2 separate regions of the Homo sapiens genome follow, and region 1 is linked to region 2. Evidence: promoter capture Hi-C in human tissues and cell types (Jung and others, 2019). All regions are on one chromosome and are shown on one strand. Each heading gives the region's core, a stretch centred on a gene start or on the middle of the fragment in contact. The rest is flanking DNA. Distances are from core to core; before and after follow the strand shown.

Evidence for each region. Contacts are between HindIII fragments. The study calls those that stand out against the background at their distance.
Region 1: a contact is called between a fragment that was not itself captured here and the fragment with the promoter of EVPLL in region 2, in 2 of the 25 tissues and cell types used here (mesenchymal stem cells and neural progenitor cells).

Annotation. Positions count from the first base shown.
Region 1 is chr17:18,176,626-18,181,149 of GRCh38, reverse strand. MYO15A (myosin XVA) reads right to left here. Exons shown (of 66, transcript NM_016239.4): 66 at 1,350-2,381. The coding sequence ends at 2,280. Among named protein-coding and RNA genes, the nearest start is that of ALKBH5, 4.9 kb to the left of the region's middle. The HindIII fragment of the contact is 6,024 bases long and covers 1-4,524 here.
Region 2 is chr17:18,376,062-18,381,203 of GRCh38, reverse strand. It overlaps EVPLL (envoplakin like), which reads right to left and starts at 3,426. Exons shown (of 11, transcript NM_001145127.2): 1 at 3,221-3,426; 2 at 204-302. The coding sequence starts at 266. RefSeq lists an enhancer at 624-1,125. The HindIII fragment of the contact is 26,383 bases long and covers 1-5,142 here.

The DNA of each region.
Region 1 (4,524 bases), core at 711-3,210, 200 kb after region 2:
AAAGCCAACCCAAGGCAGTGGTGAAAAGCAGGACAGCCCTGTGGCATTTGTATCAGGGGCTCTTTCTTGATCCTCTCCATCCCAGGATGGTCTGATTGACCCCCTAGTCCTGCCAGCTGGGCCTTCTAATCTCTCCCCAGTTACCAACTTCTCCCCACCCATCACCACCACTAGAATCTATGACAAGTTTTCCAGCTAACACTGCAGCAGCCCCCTCTGGTCTCCCCAACTCCTACATTCACTCACCGTTCAGTGGTCAGAATGGCTTTAACAAAGTACAGTCTGTGCAGGTTGTGCCTCCCCTTCCCCCTCTGGAAAACCTTTGAAGGCTGCTCATGGCTCTTGGGATGAAATTCTAAATTTTTTTTTTTTTTGAGACCGAGTCTCGCTCTGTCGCCCAGGCTGGAGTACAGTGTCGCGATCTCGACACACTGCAACCCCCGCCTCCTGGGTGCAAGTGACTCTTGTGCCTCAGCCTCCTGAGTAGCTGGGATTACAGGTGCATGCCACCATGTCCGGCTAATTTTTGTATTTTTAGTAGAGGAGAGGTTTCACCATGTTGGTCAGACTGCTCTCAAACTCCTGAGCTCAAGTGATCCACTGGCCTCAGCCTCCCAAAGTGCTGAGATTACAAGTGTTAGTCACCATGCCCGGCCCAGAAATCCTAAATTCTTTTTTTTTTTTTTTTTTTTTTTTGGAGATGGAGTCTCACTCTGTCACCCAGGCTGGAGTGCAGTGGCATGATCTTGGCTCACTGCAACCTCTGCCTCCCAGGTTCAAGCCATTCTCCTGCCTCAGCTTCCTGAGTAGCTGGGATTACAGGGGCAGGCTGCCCCTGTATATTATTCTTATTTTAGTAGAAACGGGGTTTCACCGTGTTGCCCAGGCTAGTCTCGAACTGCTGAGCTCAGGCAATCCGCCTGCCTCAGCCTCCCAAAGTGCCGGGATTACAGTCATGAGCCACTGCGCCTGGCCCAGAAATCCTAAATTCTTAATGTAGCCCAGAAGCCCTATCGAAACCATCTTTGCCGGCCTCTTCAGTCTCAGATCCTGCTACAAGTAATGCGCACCTCAGGGCCCCTGCGTATGTTGTTCTCTTTCCTCTTTCCCTAGCTAACTCCCACTCACAGGTCTTATCCTAGTTTGCGGTGATTTGACTGTGATTAACTGCCAGTGCCTGGTATTTGCCTCATTCACAGTAGGTATTTAATAGCTATTGAATGGCTGAATAAGTAGATAAATCCTTTCTCTGCTGCCATGGATCTTGCAGCTATGCCCCCATCTACCTATCTAGTCTCCCCAAGTGTTCTCTGCCCCGCACAAGCTCCCCAAAGCACCAGCACTTTCTATCAACATTCACTCGTTTATTTTTTCATTCATATGACAAATATTTTTTAAGTGCTTACTCTCTGTTAGGCATCCTCCTAGGTTCTGGAAGATACAGCAGGGAATAAACATGATTTTCTCTGGAATGTTTATCCTGCTGTCTTCCATCTATTCTTAGCAAACTCCTACTCATCTTTCAAAACTCAATGCTAATGTCCCATTTTCCAAGAAGGCTTTTCCCAAACTTCTCCCTTGTACCACTCTCAAACTTGTGTGGCCCATCAAGTGATGGGGGTCTGGGGTTGGGGATACCCAAGGAGTGGGGGATGGTCTGTTCATAGGCAGTGAATCAGGGGCCTAAGGTAACTCCAACTCCTGCCTCCTCCCTCAGGCTTGTTTTCCGGCCACTTAGCAACTCCATGGAGAAATGGCTGCCAGGCACACCTTTTGTTTGCACAGAAATAACCAAAGACCAGAAATCCAGGCTGACTGGCAGCACAAGGAGGGGCCCCTTAGGAGGACATGTAAGGGCTAGGGTGTGGAGTTGGAGCAGATTCCAACATCAGACCCTGAGTAAACCAAAGGCAGAGGCCAGTTCATCTGGGCAACTGGTGTGGGGCTTCTGTGTCATAGGCAGGAGTTAGGGGCAGGGTCTGCAATGGGTACATGGCAGGAGGCCTCATGGTCCTGCCTTCTGCTCCACTGCACAGTGGGCCAGACTTTTGAAAGTTCCTCCTGCTATCTGATCCAAGTTTGCATGCTGCCATTCCATCCCAGTTCAGGATGGGTCTTCTTGTGTTCTTGGGGATTTGAGTTGCTCCTCCTGCCTCCTCTTAGTGTCCTCCAAGGCTCTGGCCCCTTACAGGGGTCATTGATCCTGAGAGGTTCAGTGATTTCTCTGAGGCCACACAGTGAGTCTTCTGGCAGAAGGTACTGGAGGGCTGGGGGCTGGGTCAGAGCAGGGTGATCTCGCTGGGGGGCAATGTGAGCCGCTTCTCATGGGCACTGAGCAGGTTCTCCACGTGCACGGCCACCACACGACACAGTTCCAGTCCCTGCAGGTGACAGTGACAGTCCACGCCCATCCAACACTTCCCCAGCTCTTACCTTGGGGTGGGAAGTACAGAATGGAGAGGTGGTTGGGAGATAGGTGGAGACCATCATTCATGCAGGGACCCTTGTCCCCACCTCCCCCAGGGCCTGAGAGGAGCATGAAGAGCTGGAAGGCCGAATGGTGGGGTGTGGGCTGCAAGGGGTAAGCAAGCAGGAGACCAAGTGCCTCTTCCGGCTTTGCTCCGTGTGAGCTGTGTGACCCAGGGTCTATCGCTTCACCTCTCTGAGCCTCAGTGGCCTCATCTGTAAGGTCTCAATTGACCAGGGGCCTGCCTCACAGACAGGGCTGTGGTGAGGATTCAGTGAGGCTTTATTGCATGTAAATTCTTTTTTTTTTTTTCCTAGATGGAGTTTCGCTCTGTCGCCAGGCTGGAGTGCAATGGCGCGATCTCGGCTCACTGCAACCTCCGCCTCCCAGGTTTAAGCGATTCTCCTGCCTCAGCCTCCCGAGTAGCTGAGACTACAGGCATGCACCACCACGCCCAGCTAATTTTTGTATTTTTAGTAGAGACGGGGTTTCACCATGTTGGCTAGGATGGTCTCCATCTCTTGACCTCATGATCTGCCCACCTCGGCCTCCCAAAGTGCTGGGATTACAGGCATGAGCCACCGCGCCCGGCCACGTGTAAATTCTTTAGATTTAAAAAATATGAATCCAATCAATAAATGGTAACAGTTTCTAACTGTCTGTTGCCATGGTTACCGCCTGGCTCCCACAGTGCACAATGGGCAGTGACCCAGGCTTAGTGCTCCCAATTGGAGCAGGGTAGGGGAAGGCATCAGGGAATTGCGGAAATCAATCTGTGAATGTGGTTCTCAGACGAAAGCCATTGTTGGAATCCCCCCAGGGAAGCTGCTCTGAGAAAGGATAAAATCATGTTAGAGGCGCACTCTGAGTGTTAACTGTGTGCCAGGCCTTGTCCTAAAGGCCTGATGTGTCCTACCTGTTTTAATCCCCACAGTGTCTCTAAGAGACAGGAGCTATTATATCCCATTCCACAGGTGGGGAAACAGGCACCGAGCCTTGAAGCTCCAGACTGCACAACTGGTAGGTGGTGGGATTTGAACCTGGATGGTAAGAGGCTTGAGGATCACACTCTGAAGTGCTCTCTGTTGAGGTTAGCTGTGCTGGCCCTGCCTTGGGGGCCACCTCGACTAATTAAATCAGCGTGTGCAAATGGAGTCTTCTCCTCCAGCCAATCCTTTACCTACCTACATGCTGCCATGTTCTAGGCCTTGCTGGGATTGTTGCTGCATTTGACAGTGTGGAACCTGAGGCTCAGTGAGAATCAGGGACACCTCAAGATCCCCTCACACAGCCTGTCAAAGGTAGGCAGGATAGGGACCCAGGTCTGTTAGTGCAACACTGCTGCACTTAGACATCACCTCCTCCTGGAAGCTCTCCCTGATTACCTCCCAGATAGCTCAGGTCCCCTGTATACCCTCCCAGCACTGATCAAGGTATATTTTATATCTGAGACCTGAGGCTCTGTGAGGGCCAGAGCTGAGGGGGTCTCAGTCACTTCAGTATCTTTGCTACACAGAGATGCTCAGTGGATCTATACTGAATGAGTGAATGAATGTAGCCCCTGACACATACAGGCCAGAGGCAGAGAGGGCAGCATAAGGAGGTCAGGTGGTGCTGCAAGGAAGTGGGAAAAGCAAAGAGGCCTTCATCCATCCATCTATCCACCCACCCACCCATGCAACCAACAAATATGTATGGAGCATCTACTATGTGCCAGGCGCTGAGTTATGGACACAGCATGAACAAGATGGATACGGTCCTGCTCTCTTGGAGCTGACATTCTGATGGGGGAATGATACAGTTTGGATATTTGTCCCTTCTAAATCTTGTGTTGAAATGTGATGCCCAGCCAGGCATGGTGGCTCATGCCTGTAATTCCGGCACTTTGGGAGGCCAAGGCGGGTGGATCACTTGAGGCCAGGAGTTTGAGACCAGCCTGGCCAACATGGTGAAACCCCGTCTCTACTAAAATACAAAAAAATAGCCGGGCATGGTGGCACATGCCTGTAATCCCGGTATTTGGGAGGCTGAGGCAGAAGAATCACTTGAACTGGGGA
Region 2 (5,142 bases), core at 2,177-4,676:
GACAAAGACACAGGGGAGCCCAGCAAAGAAGGAAGTTGAGCCCTCTCTCCCACCGTGTGTTAGGGGACAGGCGGTGCAGGACAAATGTCATCTGTCCCATCTTCACCATCACCAGGGGGCACTCAGGGAGTGCCAGGCCTGATGATGGGCCTCCCATGCCACCCAGCCTGCCCACACCCTGCCAACTGCTGCCGGGTTCTCACCTGCTGCAGCCTCTTCTGCGTCTCCAGGATGTCCCGCTCCACCTGGTCGGCGCTGGCTTGCATGTGGGAGATGAGCAGGGTCAGCTCCTGGGTGGCATTCTTGGTGGGTGGAGGGGACAGTGGGCAGCTCGGTGGAAGAGGCCCCTCTGTGCCCCATCCAGGTGGCGTCCCCTGCCCTCTCTCCACCCCATCCCGCCCCCACAGCCTAGCACACTGCCCTGACTTTGGGGTCTCTCTCTGCAGGAGGCTCTGTGAGCTAGACCTGGTTGGGGGTGTTAGCACTGCCCCGCCACATGAGGGGTCAAAAGGTGAGGGTCTCAGGTCTGTGTGGTGCTGGGTGTCAGGCGGCCTCGGTGTCCCAGCCTCAGCCAGCTGTGCTGGCAGTGAGTTCCCGACCCCACCCAGCTGCCTGCCACTTCCCCCCTGTGAGCCGGTAGTACCTGAGCCAGCCTGGCTGGGCCCTGGGAGGGGCAGTTGGGCTGGCTGGGGCAGGGAGGCAGCAGCATGCCCCCCACCCCCACCTCCTCCCACTCCAGCCCTGTGTTCCCCTATACCTCCTCCACCCCAGGGAGCTTTGCCAGAGTGCTGGCTTCAGCAGCCGTCTAGAGGAGCCTCACACTGTCAGAGTCGGGGAGCGGGGGCAGGCGCAAGAGACTGCTGGGCACCCTAACATTCTCCAGAGTTGAGGGTTCAAAGCCCAGATTGTGCCCTAACTTGCTCTGAGTTACGTGGTCAGGGACGGAGGGGAAACCTTGCTTCCACCCCAGGGCTTTTTCTGTGCATTCGCCCTGCAGCCTCCATAGAGCACCTGCTGTGTGCATGCAGTCACTCTGTGGAGGTCACAAGGCCAAGCAGACCTAAAAGAGGGCAGATTGGTCCAAGCCTTATGAGCACAGTGCCTTATGGGGGATCATTATCCTGGGGCAGGGGAAGCCTTGAACTGGGTCAAAGGATGGGCCCCCCCAGGCAACGGGACAGTGCTGGTGAAGGCACAGCAGTCTGGAAGAACTCTGTGGCCAAGACAGCCTGGTTTCATCTTTCTCCATCATTAATGCTGTGTGACCTTGGGCAAGTTACTCAACCTCTCTGTGCCTGAGGTTCCTCACTCGTAAAGCAGGATTTTAATAAAAATATCTATGCCTTAGGGCTATTGTGAGCATTAATTGAATTTATCTGTCTGAAACATCCAGTGCAGGCCTGGTGCAGAGTCGGCACCCAGCACGTGTTAGTTTTTATCCCACTAGAGGGCTAGTGCCTTGAAGGCAGGGGCCTGTTGGTTCTGTCTACAGCGACATCTCCAGTGCCTAGAACAGTCCTGGCATGCAGTAAGTGCTCAGTAAGTTCATGTCAAACGAGTGGATCGCACGTGAGGTGATCCAGAGCCAACAGGGCCCTGAGGACTGAGCTGCCCCAGGCCAGGAGCACACTGCTGGGGAGCCTGCCTGGACAGTGGGAGCTGCAGGTGCTGGGCCCTGGGCACTCCTGCTCAGGTCCCGCCTCCTGGGATGGCTGCTCCCACCAGGAGCTGCACACTCCACCCTGGGTGGGGCTCAGGTGCCCCAGGGAGGACAGGTCACTCAGTGAGAGTGTTAGCTGAGAGTCTTAACCACTGTCTTTCCCGTCGGCCCAGACGCCCAGACTCGGTGTCTGTTGGTGCCTTGATCCCTATCGGGGTAATGGGCACCCCCACTCCCACACCAGCTTTTCATCCCTGAGCTTATCTCGACACCCTGGACCCAGGCGGGCTGCTGCCTCCTCTGCAGATGAGCTGAAGCCAGTGAGTGGGAAGAGCGCCACCCAATCCATCCACAGAGAGCTGAGGCTGGGCCCCAGAGAACCGGGTGGTCCAAGGGAGGCCCAGTGCCCCCTGCACCACACCCACTGGAAAAGGAAGCCCCAGCTCTATTCTGTTTTGTTTTAACAGACAGGGTCTTGCTCTGTCACCCAGGCTAGAGTGCAGTTGAGTGATCACGGCTCACTGCAGCCTCGACTTCCCGGGCTCAAGTGATCCTCTCACCTCAGCCTCCCAAGTAGCTCTGACTACAGGCATGCACCACTACATCCAGATAATTTTTGTATATTTTTTATAGAGATGGGATTTCGTCATGTTGCCCAGGCTGGTCTCCAACTCCTGGGCTCAAGTCATCCACCCGCCTCAGCCTCCCAAAGTGGTAGGATTGCAGGCATGAGGTATTGCACCAGGATTTTTTTTTTTTTTAAAGACAGAGTCACAGTCTGTCACCCAGGCAGGAGCGCAGTGGTGTGATCATGGCTCACTGAAGCCTCAAACTCCTGGGCTCAAGCAATAGGCATGAGCCACCATACCTGGCTGTTTTTTATTTTTATTTTTTTTATAGAAACAAGATCTCCCTATGTTGCCCAGGCTGGTCTCAAACTCCTGGGCTCAAGGAATCCTCCCGCATTGGCCTCCTAAAGTCAGGGATTATAGGCGTGAGCTACCGCGCCCAGCCATGAACCCCTAACTCTTCAATACAACAAGGCCCTGGGTGAGAGCTCTGGGGAGGGCTCTGGCTTAGGCAGGAGGCAGCACAGCCCCTGCATCCCTACCCCAGGGATCCCACCCCACCCCCTCAGTCCTCATGCCCTGCACCCAGGCTCCAGGGGTCATCCCAGCCAAGTAGAGCCTTGGGGCAGAGCTGCAGTCACACAACCAGGCTCTCCTGTGTCCCAGCCTCTGGCAGAGGAGGGCATCAGTGCAGGCTCCTGTCCGGCACTTCTCCCGCTGAGCAGCATCAATCTGTGGCCCACAGGCCCCCTTAGAGGATGTAGGGAGCCCCAGGCCATCCCCTGCCTCCTGCCAGGGCTGAAGTTCGGCCTGGGCCTGCGGCTCCCAAGGCAGGGAGAGAGTCCACCCCTGGGCCCTTTGTCCTCGGGACACCAAATGCCAGCACGGGGCTGGTCCTGGGCTCTGGGCCGCCGCCAGGTGGCTCAAGGACCTGGGCCTGGCACCACCCCCACCCTAGCTCCCTGGCTCCCCATCCCCTAGTCCCACTCACCAGCTGTGCTTGCTGGGGGAGCCTTTGGGGGACCCCTTGGCTGGGGAGTCCTTGGGGGACCCCTTCCCCTGGGAGCCTTTGCTCAGTCCCTTGAACATGGTCATAAAGGCAGGTGCTGGCTCAGGCTGGGCTTGGCTGGTGAAGGAGGGCAGGAGGGCAGGTGGGAGGCAGCGGGCGTCCTTGCTGGCTGGTCAGCTAAGTCTGGCAAGGTGGGGCGGCTGGGCATTGGGGAAGGGAGTTTCTGGGAGGCCCCTCCTTGCAGGTGAGGCAGCAGGCGGCCAGGCCCCAGGCCTGCCGCGCATGCACCCACAAAAACCACACTCATGCCTGCTCTTGCATAACCAGTCTGGGAGGAAAGGGCACAGCCTTGAGGGTGGGGCCGAGCCTGCCCGACTCCCACAGAAGGTTTGGACTTGTTACACCCACATGCCCAGGGGAGCGCGGTGGCGATTACACCCAGATAGGGAAGGAGCTGGGCCAGGACAGATGGGTCTGGAGACAGACGTGCACATGCAGGCGCAGGCTCAGCGGAGAGGCCCCAGCTCTGGAGCTCAGGATTAATAAACATCTCCAGCCAGCTCAGAGGCCCTGCTGCCAGGCTGGCCCCCACCCACAGCTCTCAATCCCCCAGGAGAGGAGGGGGTGTCCTGCCAGCCCAGGGCCTGGCTCTGTGTTCTCCACTGACATGATGGGGCAGCCAGGGGACGTTCACTCCAGACAACTGGCACAAGGTCCATTTTTTTTTTTTTTAAGAGACAAAGTCTTGCTCTGTCACCCAGGCTGGAGTGCAAAGGCACGATCTCGGCTCACTGCAACCTCTGCCTGCCGGGTTCAAGCGATTCTCCTGCCTCAGCCTCCCAAGTAGCTGGGATTACAGGTGTCCGTCACCACGCCCAGAAAATTTTTGTATTTTTAGCAGAGAAGGGGATTCACCATGTTGGCCAGGCTGGTCTGGAACTCCTGACCTCAAGTGATCCACCCGCCTTGGCCTCCCAAAGTGCTGGGATTACAGGCATGAGCCACCATGCCCGGCCCCATTTTATAAAGTGTGCACAGTGCAGCAGCACCAGGGCTGGCTTCAGGTGCCACTAAGCCTGGGCTCTGGCTGAGGCCCGGGAGCCCGATGCACTTGGCTTTTCCTACCTGCCTCTTCCCCCACCCAGAAATGGCCCCTGGTGGCTTTTATGAAGTCAGATTGAGTGGCAGAGAGTGATGCCAGCTTATTGGTCTTTTCCTCACACTGGGGACCAGGGCTGCTGCCTTTTCCTTCTGTGGTGACCCTCAGCGTCTTCAAGAAAGGGGCGATGGGACCCCCCTTTCCAGGCGCTCATTTTACTGGCCCAGCGTAACAGGCCCCTTCTGCAGAGGTGGCGTCGCTTTCCAGGTCATTCCTGAAATCCCCGTGGTTTTAGTGGAAGGAGGGCTTGAGGGGGAGCCAGGGGATGGAACAGGCGGACTGGGTGACATCACCTGGTCATCCTGGCAGGCCTCGCTGAGGACAAAACAGCCTGGCAGGAGAGAAAGGTCCCAGCAGATGGGGGAGACCAGGGACCGACACCTGATACTGGCCTCAGGCCCCCATGGGATAGAAAAGGCCTGTGCCCTTTTTGGGTGAATCTCATGGGAAGCTCCTGAACTCGGCCATGGAGAGGGGATGCAGTAAACCCCCATTCCTAGAGGTGGAGGAGCTGACAGGGGCAGTGGGGGTGGGGAGGGCAGCAGAGGCCCCTGACAGCAATGAGGAAACAAAGTGGTCTCCAGTGTCCTCAGCTCCCGGCCCATGTCTTGAGTGAGATGCCAATAGAGATGACTGGCCACTCAGCCTCTGCCCCAGCCTGCTCCCACTTTATTCCTGGTGACACTTGTCTTCTAACCACTCATTGTACGCCTGCAATCAACTGTCTTCAGAAAGGAGCCGTTTG